Regions from separate parts of the Homo sapiens genome. Here regions 2 and 3 are each linked to region 1. The links are contacts of gene promoters, found by promoter capture Hi-C in blood cells and fetal thymus (Javierre and others, 2016). All regions are on one chromosome and are shown on one strand. The core of a region is centred on a gene start or on the middle of the fragment in contact, and the rest is flanking DNA. Distances in the headings are between cores, read along the strand shown. Region 1 holds the start of CCDC184 (coiled-coil domain containing 184). Region 2 has its middle 21 kb from the start of VDR. Region 3 has its middle 3.7 kb from the start of OR8S1.

What was found. Contacts are between HindIII fragments. The CHiCAGO score rates a contact against its expected background, and 5 or more counts as called.
Region 2: a contact is called between a fragment that was not itself captured here and the fragment with the promoter of CCDC184 in region 1, in 2 of 17 cell types (naive B cells and megakaryocytes). The highest score is 5.7, in naive B cells.
Region 3: a contact is called between a fragment that was not itself captured here and the fragment with the promoter of CCDC184 in region 1, in 1 of 17 cell types (M1 macrophages). The highest score is 5.2, in M1 macrophages.

What each region holds. Positions count from the first base shown.
Region 1 is chr12:48,181,662-48,186,088 of GRCh38, reverse strand. It overlaps CCDC184 (coiled-coil domain containing 184), which reads right to left and starts at 2,445. Exons shown (of 1, transcript NM_001013635.4): 1 at 163-2,445. The coding sequence starts at 1,966. The coding sequence ends at 1,382. The HindIII fragment of the contact is 3,853 bases long and covers 850-4,427 here.
Region 2 is chr12:47,923,581-47,928,127 of GRCh38, reverse strand. No RefSeq gene overlaps it. Among named protein-coding and RNA genes, the nearest start is that of VDR, 21 kb to the right of the region's middle. The HindIII fragment of the contact is 9,696 bases long and covers 1-4,547 here.
Region 3 is chr12:48,526,867-48,531,726 of GRCh38, reverse strand. No RefSeq gene overlaps it. Among named protein-coding and RNA genes, the nearest start is that of OR8S1, 3.7 kb to the right of the region's middle. The HindIII fragment of the contact is 1,449 bases long and covers 2,400-3,848 here.

The DNA of each region.
Region 1 (4,427 bases), core at 1,196-3,695:
CCAGGACAGAAGGGAAAGCAGGGAGAGTTGGCAATGCCTGTCCCAACCAGGGCAGGGACAGTCAACTCCTTGAACTGGAGGCAAGGAGAGAGGAGGGAAGGCATGGCCCCTGCAGTTCCCACTAAGACCCACCCTGATATCCCCTTAGTACCAGTCAGCAAGGAGGGGAGATGACGCCTTTTTATTAAGGTTAACACCAAGGAAAGCATTGAGAAGGAATACACAAAGGAGGGGGAGGGCACACAAAGTCACCACTTGAGGAGGTGGAAGGGCGGCACATCAGTAAAAGAACCTCAGGACAGCCACATGCTCCATGCCCTGGTTGGGGGAAGAGGGAGAGAAAAGCGCCATTGATAGCTTGGAGCTCGTAGAAGGGTCTGAAGCCCCTGAACCTAACACCAGAGCCACAAGCCCTGCCCCTGAGGGCTCACACACTACTACACAAGTAGACACACATAACACACACAAGACATTATGAAGGCAACACCGAGAGGCAGTGGGCAAGGACATATTGACAGAAAAAGGAACTGAAGTTAAGCAGGTGTAGCCAGGAGAGACAGTTTTTGGCTGCGGCCCCAAGAGTCCCTCAAATGTCCCCTAAATCTGGGCTGCTGCTGAGCACCCCCGAGTCTCTGCCTGTGAACCGGGCTCTTTGTTCTCTAAGCCCCAGGGAGTGGAAAAGCAATCCCAGATGAAGTCAGTGACAAGGCAGGATCCGCTCTGCATGCAAAATCCTAGAGGTTGAGCTATTATGTCTTCATGCACATTCATAGCCAGCTCCTCCCAGCCCAGGGGCCCTTGGAACCCCATTCACCCAGATTCCTAGGGCTGCAGTTCCCTCCTCAAGCTTCCTTTACCAATCAGCAGCCGCAGAGATCTGTGAGGGGGAGAGGCTTCTGCAGAGCACTGAATATCTTGGATTTCAGCAGAAGGGTAAATTTCCTGTTGCCAGAACAAAATACCCCCAATTCCTTAATTTCCAGGTAAATTGTTAGAGATTATTTGCCATGGTCCTAGGTAAGTCCTTTTTCAGAATAGAAAAAGCAGAATTTTATTTACACAATTCACGGGTTCTCCTGTTGTCTGGGAAGGGGGAAAGGACAGGATAGGGATGGATGGGAGTCCAGAGATGGGCGCTTCCTCTCCCGGAGCCTCACCTTTCCGCAGTTCGCTATAATTCGCTTAGTTGGGCAGAAAGAATTCTCGATGCTCCCAAAGTCCTTCACCCTACAAATCCTTCCTCGAGGGAGTCTCTCTCTGCCTGACCCACAAGAGCAGCTGTCCAAGTGAAGCATGCCGCACCGCGCCGTTCAGTCCCCCTCGCGTCATGCACTCGGAAACCCAAAGACAGCCCGGGAAGGTAGTGCCCCACGGAGTCCCCTCACAGGGAGGCCTCGCCCTCCAGTTGCAGCAGGGTAATGTCGGGCATGTCGAGGGGCTCCACAAGTGGCCCGTCCCCCCCAAGGAGACCAGCACAGGGGCTTTCGGGGCGCTCACAGTGACTGGAGGGTGTGGCGGGGCTGGGCATCTCCTTCTCTTCTTCCTCTTCCTCCTCGTCCTCGGGATCGCGACCCAGCAAGCCGCTGTCCCCGATCCCAGGCGAAGGAGTCTCCGGCTCTTGGGGGTCGCTCTGGAAGCTCCCCTTGCCGCCGACCACGCCCAAGCCGCCCTGGCGGGGCGCAGTGGTCATAATCTGGCACATGGAGACGATGGCTCGCTGGTTGGCGCACACGTCGTCCGAGAGCACCTGGATGTGCGAGGCCTGCTCGTCCAGGGCCCCCCTCATGGCCCTCACGTCCTCAAACAGGGCTTGCAGCTGGGCTTTCAGGTGCTCCATCAGTTCCTTCATGCCGCCGTTGTACTCCCCGGAGATCACGTCCCCCACTGCCGGCACGGTGGACACCTCCAGGGGCGCCGGCATGTCGCCGCCGTCCTTGGTCATGATCTCCAGCAGACCGTCCTCCATTGAGTGGCAGAAGCGGGTGGCGGAGGCTCTGGGTCGCGTCCAGCCCGGCCTCCGGGGTGGGGGAGGGGGTGGAGGGGGAGAGGTCCCGGGAGGGGCTAGCGGGAGCCGAGGGAAGCGGAGGCTCCCGAGACTGGCGGGGAGCCGACGTGAGAGACGAGTCCTGGGCAGAGGGCGCAGGCAGGATCGCGGGAGGCCGAGAAGAGGCTGCGGGACGAGGACCCGGCGAGGGTCCCAGAGCCGGCGTCTCTTGGGATCGCCCCGGGACGAAAGTGCCCTGCCCTGCCTCGCCTCCCGGATCGCGCCCGTGTCAGCGCCGCCCTCTGGGCGCCACAAGCAGAGAGCGCCTGCCGGTTCCGTGGGTCACAGACGCGCTCGCGGAGGGGTCCGCGTCCAGGCTGAGGCCAGCGGCGCGTCGGACTCGGGACTCCCCCAGGCCATTACCGGGCAGCGCCCGCGAGTGTGGCAGCAGCAGCTGGGGTGGGTCTCCCGGGGGTGTCGCGGATGCTCCTCTGTTTCCAAGGCGACGCACGGCACGTAAATGACGTGTGTCTCCATGGTAACCAGGAAGTGGCGAAGAAAAAGGGAGGATGGCTGGAAGCTGCAGTGGGGCTCTGGAGTCTGGACTAGCGGGGTGGGGGGAGGAGAGGGGACGCTACAGTGGCTTCGGCCAAGGCTGGAAAGAGCGTGTGGTCGCAATGTTTAATAGGGAAGTATGAGAGAGCCGTCTGCTGCAGAAACCTCCAAGTCCGGGAGAGATCGTCCCTCCCCTAGCCGGGGTATGAGACCCAGCGAGACTGCCCTGGAAAGATTTTTCCAGCCCGCATTCCTTTCTCAGAGGATGGCGCTAAAGTCGAGTCCTGCCTCCCTGTCCTCCAGCGATGCGCAGGAAAGCGGAGAGGGTAGAGAGGCTGTTGCTAATGATCCCAGAGTTGAGCTGGGGCACGGTGGCGCTCTGGAGCCGGACCCACCGGGCCTGACGGTGCAGAGGCAGGAGGAGGGCGCTACGGAGGTTTCTGCAGTAAATCAGCCCTCTAGCTATAGAAATCACCGGAGCGGGGGAAGGATGGGACTCCCTCCTTTATGAGACCCTACCGCTCCTACGCAGGTCTCTGGGAGTTTGTCCCAGATGGGGAGGCCAAGTGCTTAAGTTTTGAGAATGAAAGCTCCATAAGGGGAGAGATTTTTGTCTCCCCTGCACCCTCCATCACGGAATCCCCAGCTCCTAAAATAGTGCCTGGCACCTAGTATGTAGATGCTTAATATAGTTATTGAATGAATAACAAAAACCACCAAGTCCCACGCTCTCATCCAGAACTCCCCAAGCCAAACGTAGTGGGTTTTAGGAGACCTGAATTCAGTTTCGTTTCTGCCACTTATTCATTCAGCGACCTTGGCCACATCATTTTCCTCATCTGTTAGGGAATTGGACTGGATAATCTATAATACTATTTCTAATTCTGAATAACAGTCTGCATCATCTCACAGGTGAAAAGGTAAACTGTTGACCGTTGTGTGGAGGGTATGGATGGGGGGACTGTGTGTTAGAGTAATTCCCGCTCTCTCTTTCAGTGCCCAAGTTCAGACATACACTGAGTATCCCCAACCTTTGTGACAAGCCCTTTCCCTATTTAAGGGGTGGAGCAGGAAGGGTGGAGGAAGAAGAAAAATTGTCTTTAATATACGTAGATGATTGCAGATTGAGAAGGAATCAGCACCTGGGCAGAGCACAATAATTAATAATGACCCTAGGAAATTAGGGAAGCCAAGTGATCGGAAGCCAAAAATGAAGTTCATAAGAATAAATCTGGGAAAGAGAAACAAACTATATCACTTCAAGATAGAGAAGAACTACGTAAAGGTGAGTGTTTTGTAGACTGGCGGTTCAGTGACAGCAAATGTGTTACCTTTGGGTTTCCCTGGTTATGTGCTTGGTGATGAAGAGTGAGGCTGGCCCAGGGAAAGTTTTGTGACACTAGAGGACTGCTTGACCTATACCAATCTTACTGCTTTTAAAATAGAAACAAGTGGGGACTATCCTAAATGACCAGCAGCAGAATGTTTAAATAAACTAAGGCAAAATTGCTGATACATAAAGTATTATGCAGCCATTAAAAATTTGATTTCCCAAAACAAATATATGAACAAATTTTAAAAACACAGTATTGTATTTTCTGAAACTAATGATTCAATTCTATTTGCTTGCTCATTTCTTCCTTCATTCTACAGATTTCCAGCACTCTCACCTTGCTTAGGACTCCTACCTCTGCTCTGTACCCCACACGTGGTAATAACACCTTAGATTACTCCTGAAACTCTGGCTCAAGAGAGGACAGAAATGCTTTTCCTTGGTTTCCATAAGCACAGCTGAAGTGGGCTGGTGTTTACAAAGAGACTTTATTAAAAACTATAGGAAAACTAGAAATAGAAACAGAACACATGAAAACAGCTGAGCTTACACAGC
Region 2 (4,547 bases), core at 1,447-3,946, 260 kb after region 1:
TTTGGGAAAAGAATGTCCTTATTTAAAGCTGGAAAAAACCCAGTGTGATTCTTGCTGTTCTAGTAAATTTATCAATCCCCTATAATTTTCTTGACCCCAAAGATAACAAGCTGTGCTCTTAAAGAAGGGCGTAACCACATCCTTCCCTTTTGTGATCTCTTTGCTGCCCTTCTCTTTCCAAAACACAGCTTTACAGACCAGGCAGAAATGGTCAGTCCAGCCCACAATTCCAAGCATGGTTTCCCACCACTCTGAACATATACATCCTGAATAGTTCAGACTCCGATCTCTGGGAAGCCCCTAATGTCCCTTGGCCAGAAGCTCCCACAATGACATATGATACCCTCATTTATTCCTCCAAACCTTCTCCTGTCATGGGAGGTGGCTGTACTCATAGAGCATCCCTGAACTAAAGGGCCAAGATATGAGCTTCGCTGTCATGGGAGCCTTTCCTCTTTCAGATCATTCCTTTTTTGGGTGCCACTGGCAAGGGTATAGCCATAGCAACAGTGCCAGGGTCAAAAGTGGTCTTGTTTGAGTTCATACATGGCTCAGGTCATGGCAAAGTCAACATCATGGCAAAGCCAATGAACCTCTTGGTTCCCTTACCTCGGGTTATTCTCTGTTCCTCAATCCCACCTCCCACTCGGATCCATTCTCACCTTTCTCTGTCCTGTTCTGTGTCCCAGAAGGCTGGCTGTCTGGACTATGCCCCCATGGACTCCCTCACTGAAGGGCTTCAGACAGGGTCCAGCAGGGGAGGCACTTTCAGGGGATCTGAGGGCCAGAGGAGAGGGAGGCCAAGTATTTCTCCCTCCTTCTCCTTGCTCCAGGGCCAAGTCTCTGTGCAGTGACTGCAGTTCCTGCCAGGAGTCCCATTCTCCATGCTTCCAGCTCTCTCTGGGCTCTGGTTGCTATTTCTTTCCTTATCCCTTGGGCCATTGAGATCAAGGTGGTAATGATTTCCTAATATTCCTACAGTCCATTTTCATTCCCTTAACCTTGCCTACACCTCTATCAATTGACTTTTCTTCAAGGTCTCTTCATTTGACCCCTCTGGGGTGAATTGTATTTTCTGCTAGGGCCTTGTTGGATACGTCTCGCCTCCTTCACTTTCCAAACAGCACTTGCTGGGATCCTTGTGTCAGTGCTCAGAGTTTCACTACCATTGCTGTCTAAATGAGACATCCAGGCTCTGGTCCACTCCATTCCTCCCATTTGTAGACATTGATTCCACTCTCTCTCCTCATCAGCCAGTCCCTCTGTGGAGAGGAGAGCTGGTGGTGGATGCTGGTGGACTTGGGCAGGAGGACATTGCCTTTGCCATGACTGCACAGCTGTCTTCCCACCATAGCTATGTCTTGCCACATTGGCAGGCAGGGCTCCTGGGGATTCTCTTACCTCAAGGGGAACAGTGCAAAGAGTGAAGGGCAAGATGATACAGGTAGATATAAACAGAAAGGAAAAAAAGAAAAGAAAGACAGATGATATTTCCATGCCAGGCAGGAGGTGATGTAGCTTCCAAGAGGAAGGGGAGGTAGAACATGGTGCTCAAGGATAAAGCCCAACTCCCTAACACGCATGAAAATAAATGACTTCCCACTCTGGCTCAAACAGCTTTGCAGACTCTCCATGCCACTCCTTTCCCACTGATATATCTGAAGATACTGAGCCCCTTGCTCTCCCCTAAAGTCTCTGAGTGCTCCATATCATCATGCTCATGCTCTTCCCTCTGAATAGAAAACTGTTTGCATTAGTTTTCTAGTGCCGTATAATAAGTGCCACAGCCTAATGATAAATAGCATCCATGTATTAGTCACTGCTCTGTAGGCCAGAAGTCCAGGTGACCCCTGCTAGGTTATCTGTCTGGAGTCTCATAAGCCCAAAATTCATGTGTCGCCTGGGTAGCCTCTTTCTGGAGGCTCTGGGAAAGAATCTGCTTCCAAGTTCATTCAGGCTGTTGGCAGAATTCAGTTCCAGTGGCTGCAGGCCTGAGGTTCCTATTTCTCAGCTGGCTGTCACTGGGGTCTCTCTTGAGTCTGTAAAGCCATCTGCATTGCTTCTCCTGTGGTCCCTCCATCTTCAAGTCAGCAATGGCATATCAAGCCCTTCTCATGCCTCAAGTCTCTCACTTATTCTTCTATCACCAGCCAGATACAATGCCCTGGTTTTACAGGGCTCATGTGATTAGATCAGACCCACCTGGATTATCTCCATTTACCATATAATCATGGGAGTAAGACCAGGGGGTGAAGGTCATGGGGCCATCCTAAAATCTACTTATTTCACTTTCTCTCTTTAGTTCAAATGTTAACTTCTCCATGACACCATCTTGGTCTCTTCACTCAGAATCAACAGCTGTCCTAGAGCTTTACTGACTCTTGACTAGACCTCTTATGATGTATTAATGAGGTATTTGAGAGTAGGCACTGTATGTTACTCATCTTTGTATCTTCTATTGCACCAATGCCCATCACTTAGTAGGTATTCAGTAAACATCTATTGAAAGAAAGGAAGGAAAGAGGGAAGGAAGGAAGGAAGGAAGGAAGGAAGGAAGGAATCAAGGAAGGAATCAAGAAAGGAACAGAAGAGGAAGAGGAAGAGGCTACAAAGACATAATGATAAGGACCTGAAAGAGCATCTGGTTTGAAGGGTCACATTTCTGTAAAGATATTGAGGGTACTTTGGGTCAATCCATTTTCTTTTTCTTTCTTTCTTTCTTTTTTTTTTTTTTTTTTTTGAGACAGAGTCTCTCTCTGTCACTCAGGCTGGAGTGCAATGGTACAATCTCAGCTCACTGCAATCTCCACCTCCCGAGTTCAAGCAATTCTCCTGCCTCAGCCTCCTAAGCTGGGATTACAGGCACCCACCACCATGCCTGGCTAATTTTTTGTATTTAGTGGAGACAGGGTTTCACCATGTTGGCCAGGCTGGTCTCGAACTCCTCACCTCAGGTGATTACCCGCCTTGGCCTCCCAAAGTGCTGGGATTACAGGCATGAGCCACTGCGCCTGGCCTCAATCCATTTTCTTAAGCTGCTTCCTCCTCCTCCTCCTCCTCTTTCTTCCTCTTCAAACTTGATTTGAAAAAGTTTCAGACTCTGCACTTATTACTCACCACTCCCAGAGGTAGTACTACTCCCAAGAACTAATGTTTTATACCTTTGTTTCCCAGCAAAGTGCATGATTGATTCAAAAGAGCCAATTCAAGAGGTTTGTCCTCAGTAGGTAAGCCCAGTGGTCATTCCTTCTCTTGCAGGGCAGATGACAATAGGACAGGCCACGAAGGACAAATTCTGGAGGTGTGGGAATGTTTTCAGTTTCAGACAGATATGAACCAGGCAAGATCCCTGAGTTTAGCACCAAGGTTTTGATGGGGATGAGAAAATTCCAACTCTTTTCTTTTTGGAAAAATCATACATTTTGATAATAGGTTATTAGATTTCTTGCCTTTATGCCATCAACTGAGGAGTAGGGGCAATGATCCCATTAATACAATCCTTCTCTTTCTTTAGTAATAAGGCATGGCTAGACGCACTCCTTCAGATAAGGCAAGTAGCACCAACCCGTGGCCCAGCTGGGCCCCATGTGTAGCCCCTCTTGGTGGAGTTCCGAGCTGACCCTTGCTGGTTCTTTTCTCATGTTTCCAGTTTCTGCTTCTTCCTACCCTAGACCCAGGTACGAAAATGGAGATGGGTGACCTACATAGGGAAGTACATTCTTTTCATGCATTAACATTTTTAAAAAAGTAATATGTGTATATGGTAAAAAGCCAAATGAAACAGAAAGATAAGATGAAAAGTAAACATCTCCCTCAACACATCCCTCACCTGACCCAAGTTTCTCTCTCTAAAGCCTGTCATTGTTGATAGTTTCTTACATCTTTTTCTAAAAAAAAAAAAAATATGGTGCCTGCATTTTAAACTCAATCATAATACCTCCGCAGCTAGTACATGGTTTAATTGGAGACTTATTTCCGCAAAGATCATGTTCTCTCCTCTGAACTATTAAGCCAATTTAGAAGCATTTAGAAAAACTATTTTTCAAGCAAATTAAAGTATTGAACCTGTTTACAGTTCATCCAAGACAAAGATGAAATGTTATTTTAACTTCCCCAAGATAGCAGCTTCCTCTCCCTCCAGCCCACGAGCCTTTCTCAATTCCCAGTTCACCTTTCTCCTGCCCAGGTAAAAGCAGTTAAGACATTTAAAAAGACATATTTGCAAAGACATATCAGTAACTCCCCCACAGAAGGTAAAGTGGACACAACAACCTCCTTAGCACGTTCTCAGTCTGTCCTGATTTAAGCCCTTGTTGAGGGTGGTAACTTTTCTGTTTATAAATAAAACTTCAGCAGAAGCAAGTGGGTCTAATGCTAGGTACAACTGGACTGAGAAAGACCTTAAGTCAAAGACATATCCTTTTTGAGACAGGGTCTTGCTCTGTTGCCCAGGCTGGTGTACAGTGGTGTGAATACAGCTCACTGCAGCCTTTACCCCTTGGGCTCAAGTGATCCTCCCACCTCAGCCTCCTGGGTAGCTGGGACTA
Region 3 (4,860 bases), core at 1,875-4,374, 340 kb before region 1:
CTTTCAGGGGACATAGGTCAGAGAATTTTTCTAATTACCTTCTTCAAAGAAGAAAGGTGGGAGAAGTTCAGAGAGTGATCTTCCTGATTCTGGGGTTTTCTGTTTCCTTCTGCTTAAAATACTCAGTATGCTAAAGTGCCACATTTTGGGGTATCATGTTCTGATCCCCGACAAAGCAAGGGGAATGATGAACAAATCCAGGGTAGTGATTAGTTTTGGGTAGTAGAGGAGGGGTGGTAAAATGAATAACTTTTTTTTTTTTTTTTTTGAGACGGAGTCTCGCTCTGTCGCCCAGGTTGGAGTGCAGTGGAGCGATCTTGGCTCACTGCAAGCTCTGCCTCCTGGGTTCACGCCATTTTCCTGCCTCAGCCTCCCAAGTAGCTGGGACTACAGGCGCCCGCCACAACACCCGGCTAATTTTTTGTATATTTGGTACAGACGGGGTTTCACCATGTTAGCCAGGATGGTCTCGATCTCCTGACCTCGTGATCTGCCTGCCTTGGCCTCCCAAAGTGCTGGGATTACAGGTGTGAGCCACCATGCCTGGAATAAAATGAATAATTCTTAAAGCTGGGTAGTGGGTACATGTACATTCATTTGTAATCATTCTTTAACTGGAATGTACATGTTTAGTACATACTTTTTAAGTGTGATATGTTTTATGAGGATAAAAGACAGAAGAAATTTTATAGTTTGCAAAGGCTTTAATAGTAAAACAGCAAATAGTGCAATGAAGCTAGAATAATATTGAAAAACCTCAGCATGAACTATTACTTTGCGTGGTTTTGTCTCTAGTATATTTGCACCCTTTTTGTCATCTGTCTTGTAGGAGGAAACTTCAGGCCTCTTAAGGTGACGGTGTATCTGGGAAATTAATGCTCAGAAATTCCCTATAAATTCAATCTCTCATTAATAAGCACTCAGGTATATGCTAGGATTGTCAACAGTTATTTATACTTCTTGGGAGGGTCAATATATAGCCAAGGTCTCCTCATATTTCTGGAGGCCACAACATAAAAACCCTTGAGAGAATTACAAGAAGAGTTTCCTTAAGGACTAGATGGGGTCTTTTTACTGAAGGGCGGTATAGTAAGCAGTGGGGTTATGTGAGCATTGAAGTTCAAGGGCATTGCCCCTGCAATGGGGAGACCATTGCTGAGCCTCTAGAATTGTAGACATGTCTTCATGCAGTTATGATCTAATGTCTTTTACTTATGCTAAAAGGAATTTGGGTCTGTTGGTATCTTTCTCTCAATCACTATCCTCCTGTGACATCTGTGCGCTGACTATAACCAACTTCAAGTCCAGGGTTCAGGTATTTCTACTCTCCTTCACCATAGGAAGCTTGACTTGGGGTTTTAACTGATGCCTCATCTTAGGCCAAAGAAAGCAAATCAGGCCTTGAATTGTTGTGTTTGGAATATATAGTGTGTTTAGGGTATTCTGGCGTATCAGTTGAGAGGAGACACCATTTGTGAAATATCAATGGCCAGATGAGGGTATTTTTTATTTTGTACATTATTAAGAAATGAATATTTGGAGGTGTCTATTTTTTTCTGTGGCAATATCAATAATGACAGATATAAACATGGATAGGTAGATAGATAAATTTACAATGACATAGTTATACAGACAGAAATAAATATAGTTATAAAAACGTAAATCAGATTGTACTTTACATGTTGAGTTGTGATATACTTTTTTAAAACTTAACAGTGTATATCATGAATGTTTCCGTGTAATGAAATATTTCTCTGGATGTAGTAGAATATATGTAACAAAAACCATATTGTTAGACATCTAGATTGCTACAATTTTTTTTTTTTTTTGCATTGGAGTTTCCCTCTTGTTGCCGAGTGCAATGACATGACCTCGGCTCACCGCAACCTCCGCCTCCCAGGTTCAAGCGATTCTCCTGCCTCAGTCTCCCGAATAGCTAGGACTACAGGCATGCATCAGCGTGACTGGTTAATTTTGTATTTTTAGTAGAGAAGGGGTTTCTCCGTGTTGGTCAGGCTGGTCTTGAACCCGACCTCAGGTGATCTGCCTACTTCGGTCTCCCAAAGTGCTGGGATTACAGGTGTGAGCCACCGTGCCCGGCGATTGCTACAAAAATTTTAACCTCTATAAATAGTATTGAAATAAACATCTTTGTAAAAATACATTTGTGCATATTCATGATGATTTACTCAGGATAAATTCCTAGTGAAATTTCTTTCTTTTAGTATCAAATGATTTTATTATAAATCTGAAGCCATTTATTGACCATTCACTTTTTCAAATAACACAAACATGAGAATAAACTAAACACACCCAAGACTCACCAGCCCTTGCAGGACAGGAAGAGGCCCTGGACAGACAGCTTGCAAATGTTTTTCCTTATACCTAATGTCCAAGCTTCCTCACACATTCTAGGGTTCCATGTTTTGTCACCTCTTACAAGGGAAAGGGAACGTAAAAGATTCATGTACAGGAAGGTCATAACAACCTTCAACCATCAAGATATCTGATGCTAACGGTTTGTACATTTTAGTTTGCAACTCTGAGAAGTAACGTCAAATAAGCACTGTCAAATCCCCACTTCCAGCTACCTCTTAAATTGCCGTTATTCTTTGAAATTATCTTTGGGACTGGTTATGTTCTTTAATTGTAGCTTTTGTGTATTACAGAGCACAAACCCAAAATCCATGTGCAGTCTCCATGTTCAAGTATAAAAGTTTGTCTCAGGACAACCTCAGGTTGCTGCAGTGTCTCTCTATCTCCCTGTAGTGTCTACTGGGCGTTGTACCTTTGGACAGGCTGGTCAAATGGCGGCACAACGAAGGGGACAACACAGTCAACTTCCCCAACGTCAAACTCTCTCCCCGTTCAAACTGGACACTGCCCACAGTCAAGGCTGAAATACCGAAATCAGTGAGACCTCGGCCTATCTTCATTCTGAAGTTGCACTCTTATGTAACCATGTAACCGAAGCTACTTCTTCACCATTAACTCAAATGGAGCTTTCAAAACGGGTGGGACATATTCTTGGGAAGCGCCCTGAGATGGAAGGCTGGAGGGTACTGGTCTTTGGGCTCTGGAGGGGGCACTGGCACCATTGCTGTCTTCTGGGCGCCCAGGATCTCGTGAATTGCTCATTCCACTGGTGGCCTGGGGATGTGGTTTAGTTCTGGATCCACCATCTGATAAAGAACCCCGTCAACTCCAGCTTTCAACGTCCCTGACTGAAAAACACTCTGCCTCAGGCCACTTCGCAATCAGTTTTTGCGCATTGTAGGATTCCATTCCTGCTTGTCCAGGTGTGTGGACACCGAATGCTGGGCCTTCTGCCTTAATTTTGATAAGCTGGCTTGGTGTCTACGGGGGCCAGGCAGCACCTGCGGAAGCTGCTAAACGGCCCTGAGCCGCTCCAGGATGAGCGGCGGGTCCCCGGGATGCAGTGGCGGGATCACGGTGCCCGCGTGGCCCCGGTCTCGCCCATCGAGGGAGACCAAATACGGCTTCTTCTCCGGGACAGAAGGCTTGGTGCGCAGAGGTGACGGCGAGGGTAGCAGATGAGGAGGCCAACATCTCACTGGGCTTGTGTTTTCATCTGGGTTTCTCTATCCCGGGGCTCCTGCGTATCAGGGCAGGGCCGTGGGCGCCGCGCGCAGCGCGGAGCATGCGCAGGCCCCTTGGGGTTGAGGCGTGACCGGAATGCTCAGCTCCGGGTGTCCGGGCTCCCTGCGGCCTTCGGTGAAGGCTGGTCTCTTCCATCTGGCCTGGCCTTTGTGCAGCTGAGGCAAATGACTGCTGTCCCGGAGGCTTCTTTCCCCCTTGTAACAGATACGTTTTTTTCATGAAAAGCTTTTAAAACTGACAATTAGAACGAAGAGAGTTTGTGAAAGAAGCTTGAGAAAAGTGCAAGTTAATATTCAATAAATTCAATAATTTGTAGATAGTTTTTGCACCTTTTCAGTTAACTACAGTAAGTTAGGCAATTGTAAAATATAGCTTAAACAAATCAGAAGCATTTGTTTTATAGGAAAAAATGTTTATTACGTGAGAGTTTTTCAGTGCCCTTAGAACCGGCAAACCACCTGACACTAAACAATGAAAGATGAGACAAAGATAGTTTCAGGATTCACTTGAGATGAGGTCAAAACAAGATTATTTGTCTAGGGTACATAGCCTGCACTCTACAAGGAAAAGACACACTGATAAGATCAGCTAATTGGAAAAAATATAAATCCCGTATACAGTGAATGAAGACCATGTGAGGAATGAAGTTTCTAGAGCCACAGAGCCTCCTTGCAATCTTTTGCACCGGAGAGCTGGCCACCAAGCTGCACACACAGTGAAGTTCTTGGGAATTTTATCTGAGTCCAAGTTCTGCCTCAGTATGTTGATTCCCTCTCTGAAGTTCTCTTAGGTGTTTATGTCTTCTATGGCCACACGGTTGGAAATCTTTCTCTTTCTTCCCATCAAGTCTTATCTAGTGACTTTTCTCTCCCACGCATCCATGACACTGTGTTCTTATTAAATGCCATGACTTTTAGTGTGTTCACCAAAGTAAATTAAAAATAATGATAGATTTGCGACGCTAATGATTTTACTAAATGCAAAGCCCAAGATGAATGTTTTAGAATGAGAAAAATGAATCAATATGTTCATAACAAAACTTTATTGAGGTAATAATTTAATAATTTGCTTTGTCACTAAGAGGGATTAAAGTTAACCTTCCTACTTGTAATAACTTTGTACCATTCTCTCATGCACTTCTAATTTACAGCTTGCAGTATCAGACACTGAGGGTAGCCAGGAATACTTACTACTATAAACTTATCCAGTGTCATGTTGTATGCAGCTTGACCTAAATTT